Linked DNA regions of Homo sapiens: all the other regions are linked to region 2. Evidence: promoter capture Hi-C in human tissues and cell types (Jung and others, 2019). All regions are on one chromosome and are shown on one strand. The core of a region is centred on a gene start or on the middle of the fragment in contact, and the rest is flanking DNA. Distances in the headings are between cores, read along the strand shown.

Evidence for each region. Contacts are between HindIII fragments. The study calls those that stand out against the background at their distance.
Region 1: a fragment that was not itself captured here is called in contact with the fragment with the promoter of FOXA2 in region 2 in 1 of the 25 tissues and cell types used here (lymphoblastoid cells).
Region 3: the fragment with the promoter of GZF1 here is called in contact with the fragment with the promoter of FOXA2 in region 2 in 1 of the 25 tissues and cell types used here (liver).

What each region holds. Positions count from the first base shown.
Region 1 is chr20:23,329,917-23,332,766 of GRCh38, reverse strand. The region is part of intron 1 of NXT1-AS1 (NXT1 antisense RNA 1); the gene reads left to right. It overlaps LOC105372571 (a long non-coding RNA gene), which reads left to right. Exons shown (of 3, transcript XR_937379.3): 1 at 1-200. Among named protein-coding and RNA genes, the nearest start is that of NXT1, 19 kb to the left of the region's middle. The HindIII fragment of the contact is 6,519 bases long and covers 1-2,850 here.
Region 2 is chr20:22,583,298-22,586,146 of GRCh38, reverse strand. It overlaps FOXA2 (forkhead box A2), which reads left to right and starts at 1,575. Exons shown (of 2, transcript NM_021784.5): 1 at 1,575-1,955. The coding sequence starts at 1,869. RefSeq lists enhancers at 1-34, 790-1,545. The HindIII fragment of the contact is 10,630 bases long and covers 1-2,849 here.
Region 3 is chr20:23,360,779-23,363,478 of GRCh38, reverse strand. It overlaps GZF1 (GDNF inducible zinc finger protein 1), which reads right to left and starts at 1,297. Exons shown (of 6, transcript NM_022482.5): 1 at 1,242-1,297. RefSeq lists silencers at 1,012-1,501, 1,922-2,011 and an enhancer at 1,572-1,831. The HindIII fragment of the contact is 9,373 bases long and covers 1-2,700 here.

The sequences.
Region 1 (2,850 bases), core at 117-2,616, 750 kb before region 2:
GCTGTTCTTATGCCCTGTGATGGATCTACTGGGGATAGAGATAAGAGCCTGTCTGCCTGCCTCAGCCTGTGCACCTGATCGTTCTTTTCCTGAAGCAACTTGTCATGCCTTCACAGTGCACACCTGACCAGTTCCAAACCAAAAAGGGATGTGCCTGGACGTGTGTGGATAGATGGCTGAGGGAGACATTATTGTTGTTGGTGAGTGAAATTGTTCTTTCTTCCTGGGTCTGGCATTTTATTTGAATGATTCTTTAGAAATTATTTAAAAATTTTCTGCCAGGCAAAAGTTTGTGCAAATGTCAACAAATAGCTTACCCTTACCCAAAAAAGGTGAGATTTGAGGTCTGGAAGTTTATGTAGTAAGGAAGACGCTAATTCTTATGGTTTTAAGATTTATAATGAGAAGTAATGGGGATTTGTCAGCATTGAATTGTGGGGTTTTTAATGAAGCTATTGTGAGAGAAAGATGAATTGACGATCTCAGGATTGAGTCCCTCCTGAAGGAACTTGGTTGGTCAGATATGGCTCTAGTGAACATCTGAGAAACAGAAAAGAAGACTTGAATGTGGTCCTTTCTGTTCTGATACTGTTATCGTCCCAGTCAGTCATGCGTAAAACATCAGCTTAGTCACTTCTTCCTCTTCCCTTTCCAGTCCCTGCCATGGGTCTCTTTTAGTATTTTCCAGTAAACTTTGCTTAGAAAAAACACCAATAAAAATCCTTGCAAATGAAATCATCAGACCCTGAAGAAGTAGCATCTTCTCTAGGGATTGATTCCTTTTCTCCTTCTAACACCACTAATACCTCCCTTGGCCAGCCACTGACACCCTTTTGAGGACTGTATTTTTGGCTTGAAAATTGGCCTGTCAGTAAATTCGAAGGGGTGTGTATTGTTCCAGGGTTGATGTATTATAACTCTGCAGGTGCCCTGCCCAATTCATTTTACTGAGTGGTCACACCCCCAGCTGTTGTGTGTGCTGGCTGGAAATAGCCACATTACAAACATGGTGCCTGTGAGTCAAGGTGGATCAATGCCACAGTGCAGCCCCTGCTCCAGAGCCCCCAGCGGGGCCAGGCTGAGGTGTGACTGCAGCGGATATGAGGCCATCTCACTCCTTCCCTGACTTGTTCTGCTTCCCTCCGTCTCTTCCTCCTGAGTCCTCCCTCCAGTCATGGGCACCCACACCCCTCTCTCTGGCTCTGCTTCTACAAGACCTGACTCGAGGCTCTGCCTTTACACTTGGATTACTGCAAGTGCCTCCATCCTTCTTTGATCTTCTCCAGGTGTCCAGCACCCCCTCCCCTTAGTGCATATTACATAAACTGCTGGACTTAGCTTCCTAAAATGCAGCTCCTGCATATGTCCTTGTTCCTGAATATCTATGGCATTGGTTCTCAAACTTGTGTGCAACCACAAGCAAACAAATAATGCAAGTTTGCTCAAAATGTTGAACTCAAGACCCATCTCTAGTGTTTTGATTCAGTCCATCTGAGCAGGACCTGGGAATGTGAACTTCCACAAGCCCCCACTCCCACCCTAGGTGATTTGTATTTTGAGAAATATACTTTAACACTGATTCTTTCCTGATTCCTATTCAAGTTCTGAAACTGTTTTGATTTCCTTTCTGGAGCATCTTTGAGGTGAGTTTATACAACTCTTTCATCTTTGTGGGAGACAAGCTTGGCCCTATCTCTGAGTATAAGTAATCCTATGTCATAAATATTCGATAAGGAAGAAAGGAAGAAAAGAGAGAAAAAAATAAGGCCAGGAAAGGGGCAGTTGTAGCATGTATGTGGGTGATCATCCTGGGATATGGTGGGTTACCCAGAATGCTACTACACTTGGTACAGTAGTCAGGGTTCTCCAGGGAAACAGAATCAGTAGGATAGTGGAGATATAAATCTATATATCTTCAATGTGTGCTGTTATATATAATATATAATAATAATGTGACAAATTATATGAATATAAATTATAAATGTAAGAATTATATGAATAAATATATTTCCAGATATATATCTAGAAAAAGGAGATTTATTATAAGCCATTGGCTCACATGATTATGGGGGTCAAGAAGTCCTACAATTTGCCATCTGCAAGCTGGGGATTCAGGAAGCCTAGTGCTGTAGTTCAAAGGCCCAAGAACTGGAGAGCCAATGGTGTGGATTCCAGTCCAGTCTGAAAGCCTGAGGACTAGAAGCGCAGAGGGCAGAAGATCCATGTCCCAACTCAAGCAGTCAGGCAGTTCTTCCACCCAAGAACTCAGAAGCCAATGTGCTAAGACCTGGCTGAGACTGGAGACCCGAGAACCAAGAGCTTCAATGTCTGAGGATGGGAGAAGATGGATGGCCCAGTTTCAGAAGAGAAAGCGTTTGCCCTTCCTCTGCCTTTTTGTTTTATTCTGGCTCTCAACAGATTGAATGATGCCCATCCACACGGGGGGGAGAGCCATCGGCTTTACTCAGTCCACCAATTCAAATGCTGGTCTCTTCTGGAAACAGCTTCACAGATACACAAGAAACCACGTTTAACCAGCTATCTGGGCACCCTGTGACCCAGTCAAGTTGACACACAAAACAACCATCACACTTGGTGAAGTTTTATTATATCCTTGACTTGTGTGTGCTGGACTGTTGAGAATAGGGTGCAGCCATGCAAAAGCAGACTGAGTTCCACAAATTGCCTTTGATAGAGAAATTCTCCCAATCTTAATCATTGGGTGGTGGCAACAAGGAATGACTCCAATAGGCACTATGGAGCAAAGAACAGCATCTCACTTCATCAGATACAATTCTTCAGCTAGGGTAGTCGTTTCAGCTCTCAAGGACCTAATCTTTTAGCAGATGG
Region 2 (2,849 bases), core at 326-2,825:
TCTGCATTTCAGCAGCAAAAGATGCTGCCGGCGGCTTCCTTCTGTGTCCCAAACCGTGCAGACCTGAGAGTCCTGGGGTTAGGGAAGTGGTTCCCCTGTGCCTACTGCTACCTCCTCGCTTGCCTTCCAGCCTCACCCTTACTCAAGCTTCAATGCGAAGCTCCGTGTCTGCCATCTCGCCTGTCTTCTGCCACCATCGCCCCCAATTTTGGACAGGTGGGCTGGATGCCCACTAGTTCCTATGCATTCTCTGTGTCTGAGGGGGTGGGTACAGGGCTGGATCCCCAAGGTCCAGCCAGGTTTTCAGAACCAAGAAAGAGCCTCCACATCCAAACACCTGCAATATCCCCCCACTCCAAATCTGGGCTCACAGGCTAACCCAGAACAGAAGACAATTTTTGAACCCAAGAGCTGCTGGGGAAATAAAAGTATACGATTGCTGGAGTTTCTAATTTCTATTAAGCAGTCCCTCTGGAAGACAGAGAGGACAGAGACGCTCTTGAAGTCAACTCCATATGCCCCATCATTGATTCCTGGATTCTTCTCTCCTCACCCCTCCCTCCCCACCTCCTGCCCTGTTTGTTTTAGTTACGAAATGCTGTGGGCACCTCGGTTGTGACTGAAAAGTAACCTTGAAACACGCCGGCCTGAATATCAGAGACAAATCTCAGCCTCCCAACCGTCGGCCGCTGCTAGAGGGGCTGCTTGCGCCAGGCGCCGGCCGCCCCACTGCGGGTCCCTGGCGGCCGGTGTCTGAGGAGTCGGAGAGCCGAGGCGGCCAGACCGTGCGCCCCGCGCTTCTCCCGAGGCCGTTCCGGGTCTGAACTGTAACAGGGAGGGGCCTCGCAGGAGCAGCAGCGGGCGAGTTAAAGGTGTGTACGTAGTTTTTCTAAATAGGACAGCGCTTTGCAAATTGGCTGTCATGGACTTGCTGTTTTGACAGAGAATGAGCACTGAGAGCGAAGAAACCCGGCATAAATAAATCCGGCTTTCATAGGGATCTGCCGGGCACTGAGGCTGGACGCGCCCTCCGACAGGCGCACCGGGCGCCCGGCGCGATGAGACGGGGCGGGGGCTGGAGGCCGGAGCCGCCCCAGAGGGTGGTTTCCTCCCAGGTCCCTCCTTCCTCAGGGGACTCGCTGTGGACCCGGGAGGAAAGGGGGCTCGACCAGGGATCCCGCGTGCCCGATCGCCCGCCCAGCCCGCTCCCCTGGCCCGCCCAGGAGTGCGGGGCGCCGCGGCGGTGGGGCGGACGGCAGGCGCTGAGGGGCAGGTGCGGAGCGCCGGCTGCGGCTACCTCTCACCTAGGTGTGAGCTGATTATTCAAATGGGCTGCCCCGGGTCTGGGGATTGGAGGCCCGCGCCAGCGCGCCGCGCTATATCACCAGCCTCCCACGTCACTGCGGCACTTGTCCGCTCCGCGGTCCACACCTCCTCCTCCTCCTCCTCCTCCTCCTCCTCCTCCTCCTCCTCCACCACCACCACCGCCTCCTCCTCCTCCTTCCTCCTCCTCCTCCCCACCCCCCCACTAGCCCCCGCGCCGCGCGCTTCCCGCCGCCTCGGGGCAGCTCGGCACTGCCAACCTCAGCCGCCACCCGGCAGCCCGTGAGCGCGGCGGCGGCGGGTGCTCCCTACCGCGGGGCGCTGGCCTGGGCCTCCTCCGCTCCTCGCCCCCCCCCACCTCCCGCCCACTTCCAACTACCGCCTCCGGCCTGCCCAGGGAGAGAGAGGGAGTGGAGCCCAGGGAGAGGGAGCGCGAGAGAGGGAGGGAGGAGGGGACGGTGCTTTGGCTGACTTTTTTTTAAAAGAGGGTGGGGGTGGGGGGTGATTGCTGGTCGTTTGTTGTGGCTGTTAAATTTTAAACTGCCATGCACTCGGCTTCCAGTATGCTGGGAGCGGTGAAGATGGAAGGGCACGAGCCGTCCGACTGGAGCAGCTACTATGCAGAGCCCGAGGTAAGCGCTCGTCTTTTCCAGGGGGAAGTGGAGCGGCGGCGCTCGCTCCTTCCCCAACCTCAGGACCGCTTCCCTCGCTGGCACCCCCCCACCCCGCCCCACAACCCCAGCCTTTCTGGGCAGCCGCCTTTTCCGCCCTCCTTGGAATCAAATGGGTCTCTTTTTTATACGACACACTGTTAGCCTTGAGATAATATTAACTTTGTGATCAAATATTGACTTGCGGCGCCTCCAAATCCTCTTCGTGGCCGAGCCACGCACTATCCTAACAGAGTTATGTTTGGCAGCGCGCGGCTGGGGAGGGGTGGGAGGTCGGCCGGCGAGGGGGTGGGGAGCTGAGGAGGAGAAGATGGGTAGGAGTTGGGGGCTGAAGTGGAGGCAGAGTCAAAGACTAGTGGACAAAGAGAAAGAAAGTTTTTGCCTGCAAAGCTCAGCCGCGTGTGGTTCAGGTCTCGGTTCTTTCCCTATTGCCCCGTTCAGTGCCTCCAGCCGCCCCCGCACTCCGCACAGGCACTGCCTTGCAGTTTCCCTGGGACAAGGGAGGGGGTCCCTGGAGGGAGACCGGACAGAGGGGGCCCGGGACAGTCTTCGCTGGAGGCAGCCCGAGGCGCCCCGCGCGTTGTCCCGCAGGTTGCTTGCTGCGACCGGAGGTGGCGTCCGGGGACTTCGGGCCTCGGCGCCAGCTCAGTATGCTGGTGGGAGAGTTTGGGGAGACTCTGGGGTAGGGGAATGTATTTGGGGTGCTGGCTTGGGAGTACTCCATGGGACCCCTGTTCTAGAATCTGGGCGAGGTGGAGAAGGGCTAGGAACGGGCCACATGCCCAAGCAGCAATCCGCTCGCCACCTTCCCAAGGGCGATCGATCATGACTCTCCCTGAATGAAACAGACTCGGA
Region 3 (2,700 bases), core at 48-2,547, 780 kb before region 2:
GGGCTATCTTTAGCCCCTAAATCTTTCCACTGCAGCGGGCATGCAAATTTCACCAACCCCACCTAAGGCCTCCAGATACCGTCACCCCATCGTCATTTCTGCTGCTTTGCCACAAACTCCCTGAATGTGTTTTCTCCCTGCCCTTCAGCTCCTGAATCTACCTTCCTCTTTGATTCCTGTTTCCATCCATCCAAAGCACATGCCTTCCTTCTAGCCTCCTTCGGCCAGACCACAGATGTCACCTCGGATTCAACGTGTCTAGAAAAAAAGTTGTCATCATCTTCCCTGATAAACTAGTCCCACCCCTCTCCCCTTCTCCAGTCTCATCAATGAGACCGCTCCCCACAACTAGCAGTCCCTCAAACATGGAAAAGACTGCCCTCTGGGAGTTCCGCTGTAAACAGGTACCTATGAGGCTTGATCAATGTCGCCTGAAGGAGACGCCCCAGTAAAACTGTGAGAACACTGACAAAGCCTAAGGAAGGGATCTATAAGAGTGGGGCTCTTATAGAGCCACTGGGGTTTCAGTGGTCCCAGCCCCAGCCTGGGGAAACAAGACTGCAGAGGGCTCTCTCAGCCTGATGCCCTGACTTCCCCAGACCTCTGCCAACAGGGCCCTCGAGGAGACCTGATTTCTCAATCAACAAAGTGGGTTCTGAGCGCGATTTCCTATGTTGCTTGGCTACTGGAGTGCAGGCACTGGAGGTGGCGACAGGGCAGTCTGCGGCCGGTGACAGCTGCGTATCCGCCGAATCTCATTGGCATTCCGGCCGCCTCCCAGTGCGCCCGGCATCTGCACCAACGTCGGCGGCCCCTGAATCCCCGAGGCTCACGGGGCCAGAGCCCTTCCAGGAGACGCTGCTACCCGCAGCCCAGTCCACGGCCACAAGGGCCGGGGTTTCCAGTGGGGCTTAAATCCGCCGCTGTCCTCGCCGCCCTCACGGCACCTCCCACCCTTCCCGCGCCACTTGGCCGCCCCAGCGCCCGGACGCCGCTCGGCCACTCCAAAGACGACCCAGAGAACAAACTACTGCAGCCACAGAGAAGCCCCTCCTCGGCCCGACGCGCCGCCTCCCGACGCGGGCATCCGGGGCCGCGTGGATCAGGCCCTCGGGCCGCCCCCTGCCCCCGCTCCCGCATCCCCGAGACGCGCAGGTCCACAGAGCAGCCGGGGCGCGCGGACAAAGAGGCGGCGGCGGGCGGCGAGGGGCCGGAGCCAGGCCTACGGGCCGCGCACTCACCTCCCAGCCGGCGCCCCCGCTGCAGCCGCTGTCCGCTGGACCAGGCCGGTAGGAACGGCCGGCCCGGCTGGGCGTGGCGTAGCACCCTGCGCGGGCACCGCCGATTGGTCGCTGCAGGCCCCTCCCCTCCCGCGGCCGGCCCCGCCCCTGGCGGGGCTGAGGAAGGGGCTGAGCCACACGTCGGGCGGCGGAGCGGTTCGGGCAGTTACCTGATCTGGCCGCGCGACTGACTGGCGACGCCGGATTGCGTCACCCGCCGCATTGCGTCACCCGCCGCGAGCCAAGGCCTGCGCCTGCGCAGGAGACAGCGACGTCTGCGCTGCGGCACGCCACAGGGGGGCGGGGCCAGTCGCGAAAAGTCACGTGAGCGTCAGATTCGCGTGGTCACTTTCGCGTCCATTCCGGGCTTCTGGCCGCAAGGCGCCAGCGCTTCCGGGCCCCAGCAGCCTGCGGTCAGGGCCTGCAGCTGGCTTCCCACTAAGAGCTGCTCACGTCCCCGAGGCCGAGCGCACCCTTAGGGCACGGTGGCCACGCGAGGGACCTCGCGGAAAGCCGGGCTTGGAGCTGGTACTCACCTTGGCTACTAGGGGCGCAGATGCCTCCACGGGCGCTGGAGAACTGGCGCCAGGCGGGGCTCGGCGCGGCGCTCTCCTCTGGGGCGCTTCTTCCGCGGTGCCCCCGCCCTGCTGGGGGGCTCGGCGCGCCAGGAGCCGGGACCGCACCCTGCCGTCTTTACTGCAGGGCTTTATTTCCAGGAGTTCCCATTCGGGCGAAAGCTTTGTTCACTACAGAACTTCCCCAGAGACCCATCCACTCTTCGGGGAAAGCACAATTGATTCCCTAAGATTCGCTGACTCCTCGAAATCTTGCTGTTTCCACCAATTCTTGCTCAATACTAACTAAAGCCCGCTTTGAAACACCTTCCTTGAGTCAGACTTCCAGTTCTCAATAAACTGACCTTGCCTTTTGCTCCCAGCCATTGGTAAAGCTTTGCCAGGTCATGCTGTCCCTTACTGTGGCCAGCAGTTAACTCAGCCTTGTCTTACCGACACGTTGAGTTTGTAATGTTTGGGGACTGTCAGGACAAATACAAATTTAAAATAAGGTTTACTACTTCCTGTTGAAAATATGAGATTTCCCTCCCTTTTTCTTCGAACATTTACTTTTAGAAAATTGGTAATTAGTGTAAGTACTTTTTCCTCTCTTTGAAATATATAAATCCTTTTGAAGACTAGTTAGGCCTTTTTGTGCGCTTTATAACCTAGATATGTCTTTTTCTAGGACCTAGGAGCCATCTCTTTAAGTATCAAGGGAGTTAATGCCCCTGTCTCCCAGTTTTAATGGGGGAGTAGGAGCCTAACTTCAGTGGGCCCTTTGCTCCAACTTACAAAATTATCTCATATCATAAAGATACAAGTTTCTTTTTCCTCTAGATAAAGCCAATTGGCTAACACAGAGG